2 separate regions of the Homo sapiens genome follow, and region 1 is linked to region 2. The links are contacts of gene promoters, found by promoter capture Hi-C in blood cells and fetal thymus (Javierre and others, 2016). All regions are on one chromosome and are shown on one strand. Each heading gives the region's core, a stretch centred on a gene start or on the middle of the fragment in contact. The rest is flanking DNA. Distances are from core to core; before and after follow the strand shown. Region 1 holds the start of UPP1 (uridine phosphorylase 1). Region 2 holds the start of C7orf25 (chromosome 7 open reading frame 25).

Region 1 (7,111 bases), core at 451-2,950, 5.2 Mb before region 2:
AAAAGCCCATGTAAAGAAACACTAATTTATCCTTCTTAAATGAAACATGAATGCCCACCAGTGCTGAAAGTATTGGAACCAAGAATATAATTTGTGCTCGATACACCTGTGCTGAATTAAAACGGTCTGCGGTGATGAGGTTTAATGCAGAGGACTAGAAGGTCAGGGTAGCCTCTGAAAAAAGAAATAATGTAAGAGCAGCTGAGAAATGGGGAAAGCTTGGGCCAAAATGCAGATGGGCAAACAAACTGAAAGGCGGGAGAGACAAAGGCCTGCCCTGGGAATGGCTCAGCAGCGCTTGTAGAAATCCAGAGTAAGACATTCTTTCTATTCAAGGAAGTCACAAAGTTTTTTAAAGACCCGCGGTTACAGCCAATGAATGGAACCAATGGTCTTTTTAACCAGAAGACCCCAGGAAGGCAGAAAATGAGCCAAAGAAAGGCCAGGCAGGGGACAGTGGGGAAAGGAAACAGGGATGGAGAAGCAGAGAGGGAAGTGCAGAGACAGGTCACCCAGGCGCCTGGAAACTGCCTCTATGGCCTTCACGGGAAACGGCCTCTTTCTACTCCGGATCCCAGACTGTGTTTCTTTGAAACTGACCGTCAGAGGAGAGCGGCTGGAGGCGGACAGACGTCTGCAGTGGGAGGCGCTCCAGGCGTTCCAGGCAGTGTCCTGCCGGCGAGTCACCCGCGACCGCGAGTCACCTCACCAAGCCCTGAATTGGGACAGGAGACGAGACGTGTCGACGAGCTGCGGAGTTCCTCGCTTCTCTGGGCCCTGCCAGGTCCAAGAACAGGTTGCCATATAAAAGAATCGTGAAGGGACCCCCTTCCCCATGCAAATTATGTCATATAACGCATATGCCTGTGAAGTTTCTCTGCGGAGCTGCCAGATAACTCGATGACAATATTTTATGCGGTAACATTTTGTTAAATGTTGACTCGATGGCCACTTGACGCCATCTGAACTCTGAAAGCTCGCGTAACAATCATCCTCCAAATGAAATTTTACCCCCTTCTCCCTTTAAAAGGCGGTGGGGACAAAACATCACTTCGTCACTTAAGTCACCATCTCCTTCCTCTTATCTGGGGCTCCCAGCATAGTTCTAGGGGTTCCCGCACTCCCCGCCCGGGTTTGGGCTGCGAGAAGCGCCCGCCTGCGCCCTGCGGGACCTGACCCTGCCGGCTCTGGCTTCACCCTCGCTGCGCCTCGGCCCGGTGGGCTCCCCGCCCAGAGCCCCGCGCGCTCCGTCGCCGGGACGTGGGAGAGGTAGGCACGGGGTGGACCCGAGGAAGCACATCCCGCCCGCGCGCTTCCCCCACGCCCACCTCGCTCCGCACACACCAGCCCCAGAACCTCCCGGCCGCGCGCCCGCCTCCCCGCGCAGCCGCGCCGGGCCGCTCTCTGCTCCTCTGCAGCTCACAGCCAAGGTGCACCAGAGCCTCCGTCACCGCCCCTACAGGTAAATGGGCACGTGGCCAAGGCAGGGGACGGGCTAGACCCCTGGGAAGAGAGAACGGCGGGAGCCGGGCCGCGGGCGACTCACCACTCGGCCTGCGCAGAGAGCCGCTACACCCGCGGCGCCATCCTCGCACTGCGACACCGGCGACAAACGCAATGCTCCAGGGCCGGACGAAGGGACGGCTCTCGGGAGGCTCGCAGACGGCGGGGCGCGGGTCTGTGCGCCGGAGCACTCGAATGAGGGAACCACCTGCGAGGTGAATCTCATATGGAGTCTGCGAGCGGCCCCGCCCTGCCCGGGGGTTACCGCTAGGCTCGGGCCCCGCCTGCCCTGGGCCGGCGAACTCAGCTGACCGCATCCTGGGCCATCCCGCAGACAAGCCCCGCCCGCCCCCACCTTCCTCTGCCCCTCTGGCCCCGCCTCCCCCGCCTTCCTCCTCTCCACCCTCCCGCGAAGGTCCCGGGAGGCTCAGCCCGCAATTGCTTCTCGCCTCTGCAGAGCAGCTGGGCAATTGTAAAGAACCAGCAGCCAGTTCTGTTACTCATTAAACAGCCCCTACTACAGAGGAAATCTTCTTACCCACGTGGTCCTAACCTGGGGCGGAGGAAACCGGGCTAGAAGCGGCTCTAGGACTAACCCAAGGTCACGCCGCCAGGCAGGATCCCCGGTCTGTCTGTCTGGCGGTGGCCCCGCGGCTGGGGCCAGCGGAGAGAAATGACAGCGTGGAACCAGCCCTGGCCCGGTGGTCGGGAATGTGGAGCTGGCACTGTCACTGTGTGTACCCTGGATCTCTCTGGACGGCCTCGGCTTCCCCCCTGGGGAGTTTCTCTGGGACCTTCCTGATCCTGGGAGTTCCCGCTTGCTGGGGCAAAGCCAGGAGCTCGCCCGAGGAGGGGAAGTGACTCATTCACTTCGAGTCGCAGCTAAGTGGCCGAACTGCCTCAAACCGGCGCTGCACTCTGACCCCCAGGGGCCGGACCTGCCTGCCCCCGGCCGGTGCCCACTCTCCGTCTCAGGCGTCTTTCCTGGTCCTCTCCCTGCTTCCCGAACGCGCACTCTGGTGAGAGCACAGAGCCTGGGAAAGAAGACGACCTAGAGGCCCGGGCAGCCCAGCACCTCTGTTACTTGCTTCCTAAAGGGAACTCCAGTTCCTGAGAAAACATGGGGTTGGGCCGGGAGTGGTGGCTCACGCCTGTAATCCCAGCACTTTGGAAGGCCGAGGCGGATGGATCACCTGAGGTCAGGAGTTCGAGACCAGCCTGCCCAACATGGTGAAACCCCGTCACTACTAAAAATACAAAAAATTAGCTGGACGTGGTGTCGCGTGCCTGTAATCCCAGGTACTAGGCAGGCCGAGGCAGGAGAATTGCTTGAACCCAGCGAAGGATGCAGTGAGCCGAGATCGCGCCATTGCACTCCATACTGGGTGACAAGAGTGAAACACACAAACAAATCAAGGAAGGAATTAAGGGTTTTATTGAAAATGAAAGTACGGCCAGGCGCAGTGGCTCACACCTGTAATCCCAGCACTTTGGGAGGCCGAGGCGGGTGGATTACAAAGTCAGGAGTTCAAGACCAGCCTAACCAAGATGGTGAAACCCCGTCTCTACTAAAAGTAAAAAAAAAAAAAAAACAAAAAAAAAAACCTAGCCGGTCACAGTGGCAGGTGCCTGTAATTCCAGCTACTTGGGAGGCTGAGGCAGGAGAACCACTTGAACCTGGGTGGCAGAGGTTGCAGTGAGCTGAGATCATGCCACTGCATTCCAGCCTTGGTGACACAGTGAGACGCCATCTCAAAAAAAAAAGGTAAATGAAAGTACACTCCACAGTGTGGGAGCGGGCCTGAGCGTAGGGGCTCAAAGGCCCCATTCCAGAATTTTGGGGAGTTTCAATGTCCTCCGCTTGGGGCACACACTATGTAAATGAAAGGGATGATGCAAAGTTACAAAGTCATTTACTTGGCCTACGCAGAGGCTATTTCCTGTCATAGCTAAAGTGTGAATCGGCCTTATGTTCCCTGCCTCCAGACCCTATTTTGCTGCCTCAGACTGAAGACTGAAACTGGCCTGGTTAGGAAGTTGCTATTCTCTCTCTCTGAAGGTAGATTAACAACTTAGTTTTAGTTTTGTTACCGGAAAAGGGTCCCAATCCAGACCCCAAGAGAATGTTCTTGGATCTTGTGCAAGAAAGAATTCGGGGCCAGGGTGAGTCCACAGAGTAAAGTGAAAGAAGCAAGCTTATTGAGAAAGTAAAGGAATAAAAGAATGGCAATTCCATGGGCAGGGCAGCCTCTAGGGCTGCTGGTTGGCTATTTTTATGGTTATTTCTTGATCATATACTAAATAAGGGTGGATTATTCATGAGTTTTCTAGGAATTCTTCCTTTTAGAACATATAGGGTAACTTCTAAATGTTGCCATGGTATTTATAAACTGTCATGGTGCTGGTAGGAGTGTCGTTTAGCATGAGAATGCATTGTAATTAGCGAATAATGAGCAATGAGGAAGACCAGAGGTAGTTTTCCTCACCTTGCTGGTTTTTGGCAGGTTTTGGCCAGTTTTGGCTGGCTTCTTTACTGCATCCTGTTTCATCAGCAAGGTCTTTGTAACCTGTATCTTGTGATACCACCTGCCAACCTTCTATTTCATCCTGTGACTAAGGATGCCTAACCTCCTGGGAATGCACTCCAGCAGATCTCAGCCTCATTTTACCCAGCTCCTATTCAAGATGAAGAGTCTCTGAGTCGACTCCTGCTGACATATTTCCTGACTCTACAACCCTTAGGATTAAGGGTTCCCTTGTAAAAGGGAAGGGGGAATAACCAAATAACTCACCCCTTTCTTGGAAAACTCAGGAATAATCCACCCCTTGCTTAGCACATATTCAAGAGTAATCATAAAAAATACCCACCAGCAGCCCTTGGGGATGCTCTGCCTATGGAGTAGCCACTCTTTTATTCCCTTCCTTTCTTAATAAACTTCCTTTTACTGTTCTCTGTGGACTCACCCCAAATTCTTTCTTGTAGGAGATCCAAGAACTTTCTCTAGGGCTCAGGATCAGGACGCCTTTCCAGTAAGTTTGGTGACCTGAAACGTTAGCATGGGTGACTTTATTTTTATTTTTAGTCTTGTCTTTTGGGGCCTAGTGCAAGAGCTTAGTCTAAAACAATGGCCTCCTATAATTTGTGTTTAACATTTGTCAGGTTAAAACCTTGTCAGTGTGACAAACTGGAAACAAAATTGTGTCGGGCCACTACTAAACCACACCCAAAATACCTGTGTCATCAATGTTTGCAAGCAGAGAGCAAATGCAGCCCACCAATGGCCACCTAGAGCAGCAGCTGCTAGAGGCAGGAAAGTCTGGAAGAGACCCAGGGCTTGCAGGCTCAGCCAGGATCCCCCTGCTCCTCAACAAGGTCTTTGGGCTCTTTCAGAGATGCAGTTGGCCCTGAGCTCTGAGAGGTGGGGAGGGAAGGGGCTGAGAGGCTGAAGGCCAGGCCACACCAGATAGTGACACACCACTGCCCTTCAGGTTTCCCAAATCTAAGTAACTTCAAACTCTTTGAAATTCTCCCAAAGCTAATGTGTCTACCTAAAAGAAAGATGAGACAAAATTAACATAGAGAGTTTATTTGTGCCCAGGTTGAGGACTGTAGCCCAGGACACACTTCTAAGTTGCCATGGGGAGTGCTCCAAGAACAAAAAGGAGGCTCAAGTTTTTAAAGAAAAAAGAACAACTCAGGAGATGGGGCGATTGCAGAGTTGTCAGGAATCCTCATTGGTTTACAGAAATAACATTGGTTAGTGATTGCCCACACAGTGTTGAACTATAGGGTGGATGGCATCTTATGGCTAATTGGCCTCAGTTATTCTACAGCCACATAGCAAGTGGCTTCAAGAGGTAACCACTTAGCTGAAGGGGAAGTGAGCCATGACTGCTGTTCTGTTCTAAATGTTCTCTGGGCCTGATAATTTAAAGGCTCACCTTCCTCAGGAAAAGAAATGTGTTTGTTGTTTGTTTGTTTGTTTTCTTTCTCAGATAATATTTTAGAGATAGTAGCTGAGGCTTCTTCTCTGTTTGTCCTCACTTCCCAATTCCTCATGCAATTGCTCTTTTCTTTCCAATCCAGCAGCCATACAGATTTCTAGAACACCCCTCAGAGAGGGCAGAAATTGAGCCGCAGTGTTTTCTAAACAGCTGCCTGGTCCATTCGTGGGTCATGAAACCCATGTGGTGGGTCACAGCTAGCATTTTCATTGTCAGTGAGACAGAATGGAGTGAAAAAGCCTCTGCCTGCTTTCCACACCAGAGCACGTACTTTTATCACACGAACTATGACTCAGACACCACAAACCCAGACCAGGCCTCCAGGTCAGAAGTTGACTCCCCTGAGGCCTGTGGTGAGACTACAGCATGACTCAGACCCCTGAGATTTCAAATTCTTGCCAAAATACAAAAAGTGAGATTCTTCCCGCCAACTCTCACTCATCATATAGAGCTACTCAGTCCCCTGACCCACCCCCAGCTCAGATAGGCTCACAGTGGCAGGCCCACTCCCCTGGCAGCTGAGTCCAGTCTGATGAGCCATCACTTTCCCAGGTTGCTGGTCCTAGTAGTCAACAAAGAGAGTCAAACTCTGTAAAATATTTGAAGAGATTTATCCTAAGCCAAATGTGAATGACCATGGCCCGTGACACAGCAAACGGCCCTCAGGAGGTTCTGAGGACACGTGCCCAAGGCGGTCAGGGTGCAGCTTGGTTTTATATGTTTTAGGAATGCATGAGACAGCAATCAAATACATTTAAGAAATACATTGGTTTGGTCCAGAAAGGCAGGACAACTCAAAGCGGGGTAGGGGGCAGGGTTCAAGGCTATAGGTAAATTTAGACATTTTCTGGTTTACAATTGGTTGAGTTTGTCTAAAGACCTGGATTGATAGAAAGGAAATGTCCAGGTTAAGATAAAAGATTGTGGAGACCCAGGGTATTTGAAGTCTTATAGTGGCTGCCCTTAGAGACAATAGATGACAAATGTTTCCTATTCAGATCTTTAATAAAAGGTGCTAGACACTTAGTTAATCTCTTTTTTTTTTTTTTTTTTTTGAGATGGAGTCTCACACTCTCACCCAGGCTGGAGTGCAGTGGCGCGATCTCGGCTCACTGAAAGCTCCGCCTCCCAGGTTCATGCCATTCTCCTGCCTCAGCCTCCCGAGTAGCTGGGACTACAGGCGCCCGCCACCACACCCAGCTAATTTTTGTATTTTCAGTAGGGACAGGGTTTCACCATGTTAGCCAGGATGGTCTCGATCTCCTGACCTTGTGATCCACCTGCCTCGGCCTCCCAAAGTGCTGGGATTGCAGGCGTGAGCCACCGTGCCCGGCCAGTTAATCTCTTTAAAATTGGGAGAGCCTGGAAGAAAAAGCTCTAGCTATGTTAATAGAGATTTTTTACAGATGCAAATTTCCCCCACAAAGGACAGCTTTGCAGGGCCATTTCAAGATATGGCAAAGAAACATGTTTTGGGATAAAATATTTTTATTTTCTTCCCTGTCTCGTAATGTTATGCCAGAGTCAGGTTGGAAAGTAAGTCACGATATATAGGGTTAAATAAAACCCATCTCATGAGAATTCATTGTTTATAGGGCATGAC
Region 2 (7,334 bases), core at 4,441-6,940:
AACTGGATTTATAATGATTTCATGATTAACTGCTTAGAAAATTGACCTTTTTTCCTCCCTCCTCAATAGGAAAGCTTTGAAGGGCAAATGACAGAGGATAACATAGAAGTTGGAATCTGCAATGAAGCTGGATTTAGGAGGCTTACTCCAACTGAAGTTAAGGATTACTTGGCTGCCATAGCATAACAATGAAGTGACTGAAAAATCCAGAATTTCAGATAATCTATCTACTTAAACATGTTTAAAGTATGTTTTGTTTTGCAGACTTTTTGCATACTTATTTCTACATGGTTTAAATCGACTGTTTTTAAAATGACACTTATAAATCCTAATAAACTGTTAAACCCACCTTCCAGCCTTTTAGGAGTTGCTAAAATTTTAACAGTTATTTCCTGCTTTTTATCACAGTTGATTTCTGAAGACTACATTGCCAAGCAGAATGATGAAATGACTTTTTCGTTGTCAGGCAATTTTGGTTAAGTCAAATCTTAATGCCCTCTTCGCTATCAGATGTTGCCTGTGTTTCCATAAAGCAAAATGCTGATTTTGGTAAAAAACATGACTGCTTCTAGAGCTGGGAGGATCTGCAGACTTTCACGGATTCATGGAACAAGAAAAGAAGCATAGGTACTTTTAGGTGCCATTAGGTATTGATCAGTGAAATCCTAGGGTGCTCTATGAGATTGTACTAGGCCTATGAAGAGTGGTAAGCCAAATAGGTCTCCATGGGAGATACATTATGTAAATAAATAAACAATGGTTTGCTGGTTCCTGTTGGTGTCTCCACAAGTAGGTAAACATGTTTAAAGGAACCCGGGTTCTTAGATTTTGTTAGACTTTTTAAACTCAAGGATGAGCATAAGTGCTTGAAATAAAATGCTAATACTTAAGTGTCAAAACTATGGCTTAAGGCTCTTGTTAATTCATTAATGTAATCTCAGTATAATAAATAGCTTCACTATAATGAAAGTTATAATTAAGTATCTGCACTCATATGAAGGCAGTGCTTAGGTTTTTTTTTTTAAATTTTTTTTAAGGCAACTTAGGATAAAATCATTAATTTGGTTTACAGAACATAAGGAGAGTTTATAAGCATAATCATTCTTACCAACGTGAAAGTATAGTGGGCAATTCCATGATTTAAATGGAGCTCAGAAGATTCTAAGATTTAGTTAAGGGCAAAAGAACCTTATTTTGGAGATTTTTCTCAGGGTCCCCAGTTCTGTTCCCTACCATCACTATAACACCCATATCTTGTTTTAGGTGGCAAAAGCATTAAGGAGATGAAAGATGGTAACTTTGGCTTCCTGTTTCAAGATGTTTATCTTGGCCTTGTCTAATAATCTCTCTTATGGGCTCTTGATATATTTTGACTTTGGCACACTAGAAAGCGGACATAGTAGCAAAAAGGTCTTTGAAGTCAAGTCTCAGCTATCTCACTTACTGGCTGAGTGACTATGTGAGGTAATTATCTCAGGGTTGGTTGGTTGGTTTGTTTTTTGAGACAATCTCTCTGTCACCCAGGGGGAGTGCAGTGGCGTGATCTTGGCTCACTGCAACCTCATCCTCCCAGGCTCAGGTGATCAATCCTTTTACCTCAGCCTCCCGAGTGGCTGGGACTACAGGCGCGTACCACCATGTTTGGTTTATTTTTGTATTTTTAGTAGAGACGGGGTTTCACCATGTTGCCCAGACTGGTCTCCAACTCCTCAGCTCAAGCGGTTCACCCGCCTTGGCCTCCCAAAGTGCTGAGATTATAGGCATGAGCCGCTCTGCCCGGCCATATCTCAGGGTTTCCTAAGGACTAAATTTGATAACACAAGTTAAAGCCTGGTGTGGTTAATAGTTACTCTGTTAACTGCCGTTGATTTTGTTTAGTCCTTCTATAATGTCCAGTATCAAAAGAGCAAAGCAATGTCAAAATTCTACAAATCAAAGAAGGGAAAATTAAAGGCATGTTAATATTTCAGAGGTAAGGAAAACTCATGTAGGTTTTTATTGTGTGCTAACAAAATTAGGCCTAAAGAATAAAGGGAGGAAAAATCAGCTGAACCAGATTTGATCCAGGTTCTGTTTTCCACCTCCTGCCCCCATTAAATGCAAAGCCCAGTTCCAGTTCAAGCTGCCTACAACACTTCTCCCTTTGTTCTGTTTATTCTTTCCACGGGCCTTAAAATTAAGTTGTTCCTTTTTGTCCCAGTTCTTAGAGTTCTTTGATGTAGCAACCCACTGCATTCCTAAACATTCCAAAACTCTTGAACCATTTCCAGCCTGTGGATTTTAGCTTAAGTATCATAATGTTTCTAATGTTCAGAGCCTCTGCCTTTTGGTTCATTTTGTATCTTCTAACCCTTAAAACATTTTAACTCCATTTGTTCTACTTCCTCCCAGTTCTACTGAACCATGAATTTAAATTTGCAAAGCAATTAATAGCAGTGAAACATGGAGATGCTTAAAATTCACATACACAGGCAATAAAGAATACTAATACAGAGCCTTATAATTATCAAGTGCTGATAACACTCAAGCATCCCTGAAGGAAAAAAAAAAAAACCCAACCTTGAGATAATTACCTTGCACAGTCTCTCAGGCATCAAGTAGGTGATAAGTGAACATTGAAGGGTTTTCATCTATTGCTCAGTTTTCTTCATAGAATGAAACTGCCAACTCTTAGTACTTACCTCACCTTTTTTTCAGGAGTCTACTCACCCATGTAGGCAAGCTCTCTGAGCCCCCCATTGCAAAGAAGAGCAAGTTGATGTTCAGCGAATTGCCCAAGAACATATAGGAGTTGAGAGTTCCCTTGGATTAGAATCCTGATTTCCTGAAAACCAGTCCTGGTGGTTCTGTATGAAAGTCACATTGCTTCACACAGTTCCTTCAATTTAGAGCTCCTCCCTCCACCCTGTTCTCAAGAAACTTATGAAACTAGCAATATCTGGCTGCCAATTATCTGATAACTTCCTAAGCATGAGCATATTTAAAAAGTTAAGTAAAATGTGAGTGCTACTCCCTGAAAGCCATCACTTTTGACTTTTTTAGGTGTTTCATGAGGTACTTGCCTCCGTATTTCAAAATAGTAGGATTATATGCCTTTTTCTTGGATTCCCGGAGTTGAGCTGCCAGACTTCCCATTGTGCAAGATGAGAATTTAGAATCCTCATATCACACTGACTTCCTTCTCCCTACCTCAATTAAATCATGTTGAAGATTTTTCTTATGACTAAGTGTACTACAATTTACATTTCCGGAACAACTTTCCTGGCAGTGATAACCGCTTTTTTTTCTTTTTTTTTTTTTTTTGAGACAGTCTCACTCTGTCACCCAGGCTGGAGTGAGGTGGCACAAATCAGTTCACTGTAGCCTTGACGTGGGGTCAAACGATCCTCCCACCCCAGCCATTGCAGTAGGTGTGAATACAGATGTCAGCCACCATGGCCAGCTAGTTTTTTTACTTTTTGTGGAGACAGGGATCTCACTACATTGTCCAGGCTGGATTTGAACTCCTGTGCTCAAGTGATTCTCCCGCCCTGGACTCACAAAGTGTTGGGATTACAAATAAGCCATGGCGGCGCCCAGCCCACTTGGTTACTTTGTTTTCTGCGTAGCTGTCACCAATCCTTGCCAGATTCCCCCAACAGAAATTTAACACCCTCTGCTTAATATTTTCCTCATCAGTCAGATATCAGGCACTCTGTATCAGTTCTCTTCCCCACACCTCAGAGAAGTTTCTCTTAGAACCCTCTGTCTTCCTGTTCCAATCCAGGCTAGGTGCTTGTTTGAAACTATCTTTATTCTCCTTGCTTTCTCTCTGAATTGGCTGGGTTTAAAAACTCTAAGAAATAAATTATCTCCACATTTTGAAAGCATTACTCCCTTCTAAATTCCAGTGTTGCTGATAGGAAGCCTAATACTATTGCGTATGTGATGCCAAGTCCTTTGTAAGTTTTCCCCTCTGCAGCTCTTGGTTTTTCTCTTATCTGCTGTGTTCTGAAACTTCACAACCATGTTCCTTTGTGTGGGTTTCTTAATAGTCATTGTGGTGAGCACTCAGTGGGCCCTTGCACTGTGAAAAACGTTTCTGTTTGCTAAATTTTCTATTAAGTTTTTGAAAAATTTTCTCTTCATTTTGTTTTTGTTTCTAAACTCCTGTTAATTGGATACTGGATCCTTTTGTTTTTGCTCCATTTTTCATCTATTTCTACTTTCTAAATTTTTCCAACTCATTGATGTTTTGAAATTTGGGATATGATTTTTACTACAGAAGAACCATTTCCTGTGCTCTGCTGTCTCCTTAAAAAAAGAAATCCTCTTGTTTCATAGCTGAAATATCTTTTATTTGAAGATGCTAGTTATAGAATACTTTTTGAGACCATTTTGTTCTGTTTTCCATTTCCTTCAAATAACAAAAACGTTGGGAAATGCTGTGTTCGTGAGGCTCACACTAGGGGATGCTGAATGTTGGTATTGCCGAGCCATTTCTCTAGGGTCTTTTGTCTACTCATTTCTTCAGAGAAAAATAGGGTTATGGGGAGATAGTGGTAGGGAGCGGTAGAGGGGTGCCTGCATTATGGGAGGGGCAGAGAAGGGGGCTGCTAGCATTGCACTATTCAGTAGGAAAACATCATGGCACCTCTCATCCTTTGTTAGGCTTTGTGTCTGGAATCCCTCTGATGCCCTGTCTTTAGCATCTTAAACTAGTCTTCTGCCTGAACAATTTACTGCCCTCCCTTCTACCTTCAAGGCACCTGAAGCTTTCTGGGGTTCTGCTTTGTGAATCAGTGGCTAAATATCCCCTTCTACAAGCAGTTTGCTCAGTTCTCCTGACACCATCTGCAAAGAGGGTGCTTGGGTTCAGGTAACCTCCCTATGGCTCACTTATCTGTAAAGCATACTTAATATCTCTACCTTTTAGGTTGTTTAAAGGAGTGAACAATGTGTAAAACACTTAGAACAATGTCTGTCACGCTGTAAGGACTGAATAAGTTATTGCTCTTGTCCTCCAAAAATGTGTTGGTATAACCGGTCTGCAGTCATCTCTTCTCTTGTTCTTTTTGCCTTTGTTTGTTCCCTTTGTCATTGCTTTACTGTTATTTGGAGAAGGAGCATTGCTTTACTGTTAAGTTTGGAGAAGGAGCAGGATACACAGGATTAATTATAACTGGAAGTCCTCTTTAATATTTTAAATTAGCTTTACTTTCTTACAGCCCTAATCTTTCTGGGTGACTCTGGACACTCTACTACAGTAATATGAATATGGCAGCCCCTCGGAAGCCATGCAATCATTTCTTCTCTTCAGAAGGACAGCACACTTTCTTTGGAGGGCCCAGGACAATGCAGTGGAAAGTGCTTTGGCTTGGAGGCAGAAGTCCCAGAGGCAGTACTTCTCAGCTGTCACCTCTGACAAGCTTCTCCAGCGTTTCTTCTGTTAAAATGAGCCCCCAAAATGCCTACGACCCGGTTGCGATCGAGTGGCCGACGCCCCCAGTGGGAGTGAGGCCCAGCACGCGAGCTCGGTCCCTCTTCCTGGAGCCAGGTGGGTGCGCGCCTTCAGGCTCACCCGGCGGCGCAAGCGGGAGAAGCCAGGTGCCCTCAATAAACATGGCCGCCACGCCAGCGTCAACCCGGCTCGGGAGGCCGCGCTGCCGCTTGGGAATCGCAGGTTTGGCGTCACCCGGCCCGGAACCACGTGATGCAGGAGGTGCCCGAGGCGGCGGGGCTCGCGCGGGTGGAGCCGCCTCGGCGTTCGAGCGGGGTGGGGGCTGCCCGGTTGAGATTTCCCGGCGGGTCCCGGCCTCTGCGTGCACGCGCCTGCGTGCTCGCGCTCGCGGTTCTGGCGCTGCCGGTGAGGAGCCGGGGAGCGAGGCGGGGAGGCTGGGAGCGGGGCGCCTCTTCTGAGGCCAGAGGGGGCTGGGCAGGGCCGGCCCGGCGGGAAGGGGGTCGGCCGCGCGCTATCAGCGCCTGGTCCCTGAGCCGCGGCGCTGGCGGTGGGGGCTTTTCGGCCCCGGCCCCTCCTGGCAGGGCCCGGCTGTGCAGGTGGCCGGGCAGGGCCGAGGGCCCCGCAGCCCACCGAGAAGGCCCCGCCGGCCTCTGGCCCGCCCACCCGGCGACCTGCGCTGGGGCCGCTTGCACGGCCGCCGCGGGTTGCAGCCTTGGAGTTTAGTTTCATCTTCGGATTTTCCTTCAGAGTCGGAGTGGGAGTGGGACGCAAGTTGGTGGTCTTCTTCGGTCTTTTAAAATAGTCTGGGTTGACGTCAAATGCAGAAATGAGGCAGTGTTGATTTTTTTTGGCGTAAGTACCCCAAGCCTCGGGGGAAATCATGAGGCAGCCGGTTGAAGGAGACCAACTCGGGAAGGAGGAAAAGGTTAGGGAGGCTGAAGTGCTCAGTTTAGGACAGACACTTGCTTTGGACAGTTTGCTAACTAGCCAGTCTGTGTGTATTTTTGTTTTCGGCATTTTTGTCGCCTTTATTAAAATTTCTCAGCAGTTAAACAGGCCGCTGATAGACATAAGGGAATTATTTATATAGCAGATTGCCCAACTCTTGCATTGTATCCTAACCTAGGACCATGCTGTGTCCCCATGGCTTTCAAGCTGAAGAAATGAAGGTCTAAAGTGTGTCAGACGTACCTAAAGAAGAGTTCAAAAGTGTAGCTGCCATCCTTTCCTTAGCTATCAGAGGAAGCAGTCACTCCAGAATGAGACATACACAAGCCCGGGTTCATAGACTCACCCTCCATAAGCTGTGTTGCTAGATTGAAGTTTTTAATCACCAGTGAAGAATTGATTGTCATAATTTTAGGAGACTACTGAAGTTTGCCTTGTTTCTTTCCCTAGGAAAGGAATAATGCTGACAGCATGTCTGCACATTCCATGCTCTGTGAACGAATCGCCATAGCCAAGGAACTGATCAAGAGAGCAGAATCACTTTCTAGATCAAGAAAAGGTGGCATAGAAGGTGGTGCAAAGCTGTGCAGCAAATTGAAGGCAGAATTAAAATTCTTGCAGAAAGTAGAAGCTGGGAAAGTAGCTATTAAAGAGTCTCATTTACAGAGCACTAACCTAACACACCTGAGAGCCATTGTGGAATCAGCAGAAAACCTGGAAGAAGTTGTTAGTGTTCTTCATGTCTTTGGTTATACAGATACCTTAGGAGAAAAGCAAACCCTTGTGGTAGATGTAGTTGCAAATGGTGGTCATACTTGGGTGAAAGCCATTGGCCGGAAGGCTGAAGCTCTTCATAACATCTGGCTGGGCAGGGGCCAATATGGTGACAAAAGCATCATTGAGCAGGCTGAAGACTTCCTCCAGGCCAGTCACCAGCAGCCAGTGC

The links. Contacts are between HindIII fragments. The CHiCAGO score rates a contact against its expected background, and 5 or more counts as called.
Region 1: the fragment with the promoter of UPP1 here is called in contact with the fragment with the promoter of C7orf25 in region 2 in 2 of 17 cell types (non-activated CD4 T cells and activated CD4 T cells); the score reaches 10.5 in non-activated CD4 T cells.

Annotation. Positions count from the first base shown.
Region 1 is chr7:48,083,854-48,090,964 of GRCh38, reverse strand. UPP1 (uridine phosphorylase 1) reads right to left here and starts at 1,700. Exons shown (of 9, transcript NM_003364.4): 1 at 1,547-1,700; 2 at 601-777. RefSeq lists silencers at 1,136-1,325, 1,666-2,005 and enhancers at 1,106-1,635, 2,146-2,355, 2,168-2,697. The HindIII fragment of the contact is 3,480 bases long and covers 221-3,700 here.
Region 2 is chr7:42,910,426-42,917,759 of GRCh38, reverse strand. It overlaps C7orf25 (chromosome 7 open reading frame 25), which reads left to right and starts at 5,690. Exons shown (of 2, transcript NM_001099858.2): 1 at 5,690-5,845; 2 at 6,839-7,334. The coding sequence starts at 6,860. It overlaps PSMA2 (proteasome 20S subunit alpha 2), which reads left to right. Exons shown (of 8, transcript NM_002787.5): 8 at 70-899. The coding sequence ends at 186. RefSeq lists enhancers at 3,888-3,947, 5,467-6,163, 6,164-6,861 and a silencer at 5,859-6,118. The HindIII fragment of the contact is 2,903 bases long and covers 5,411-7,334 here.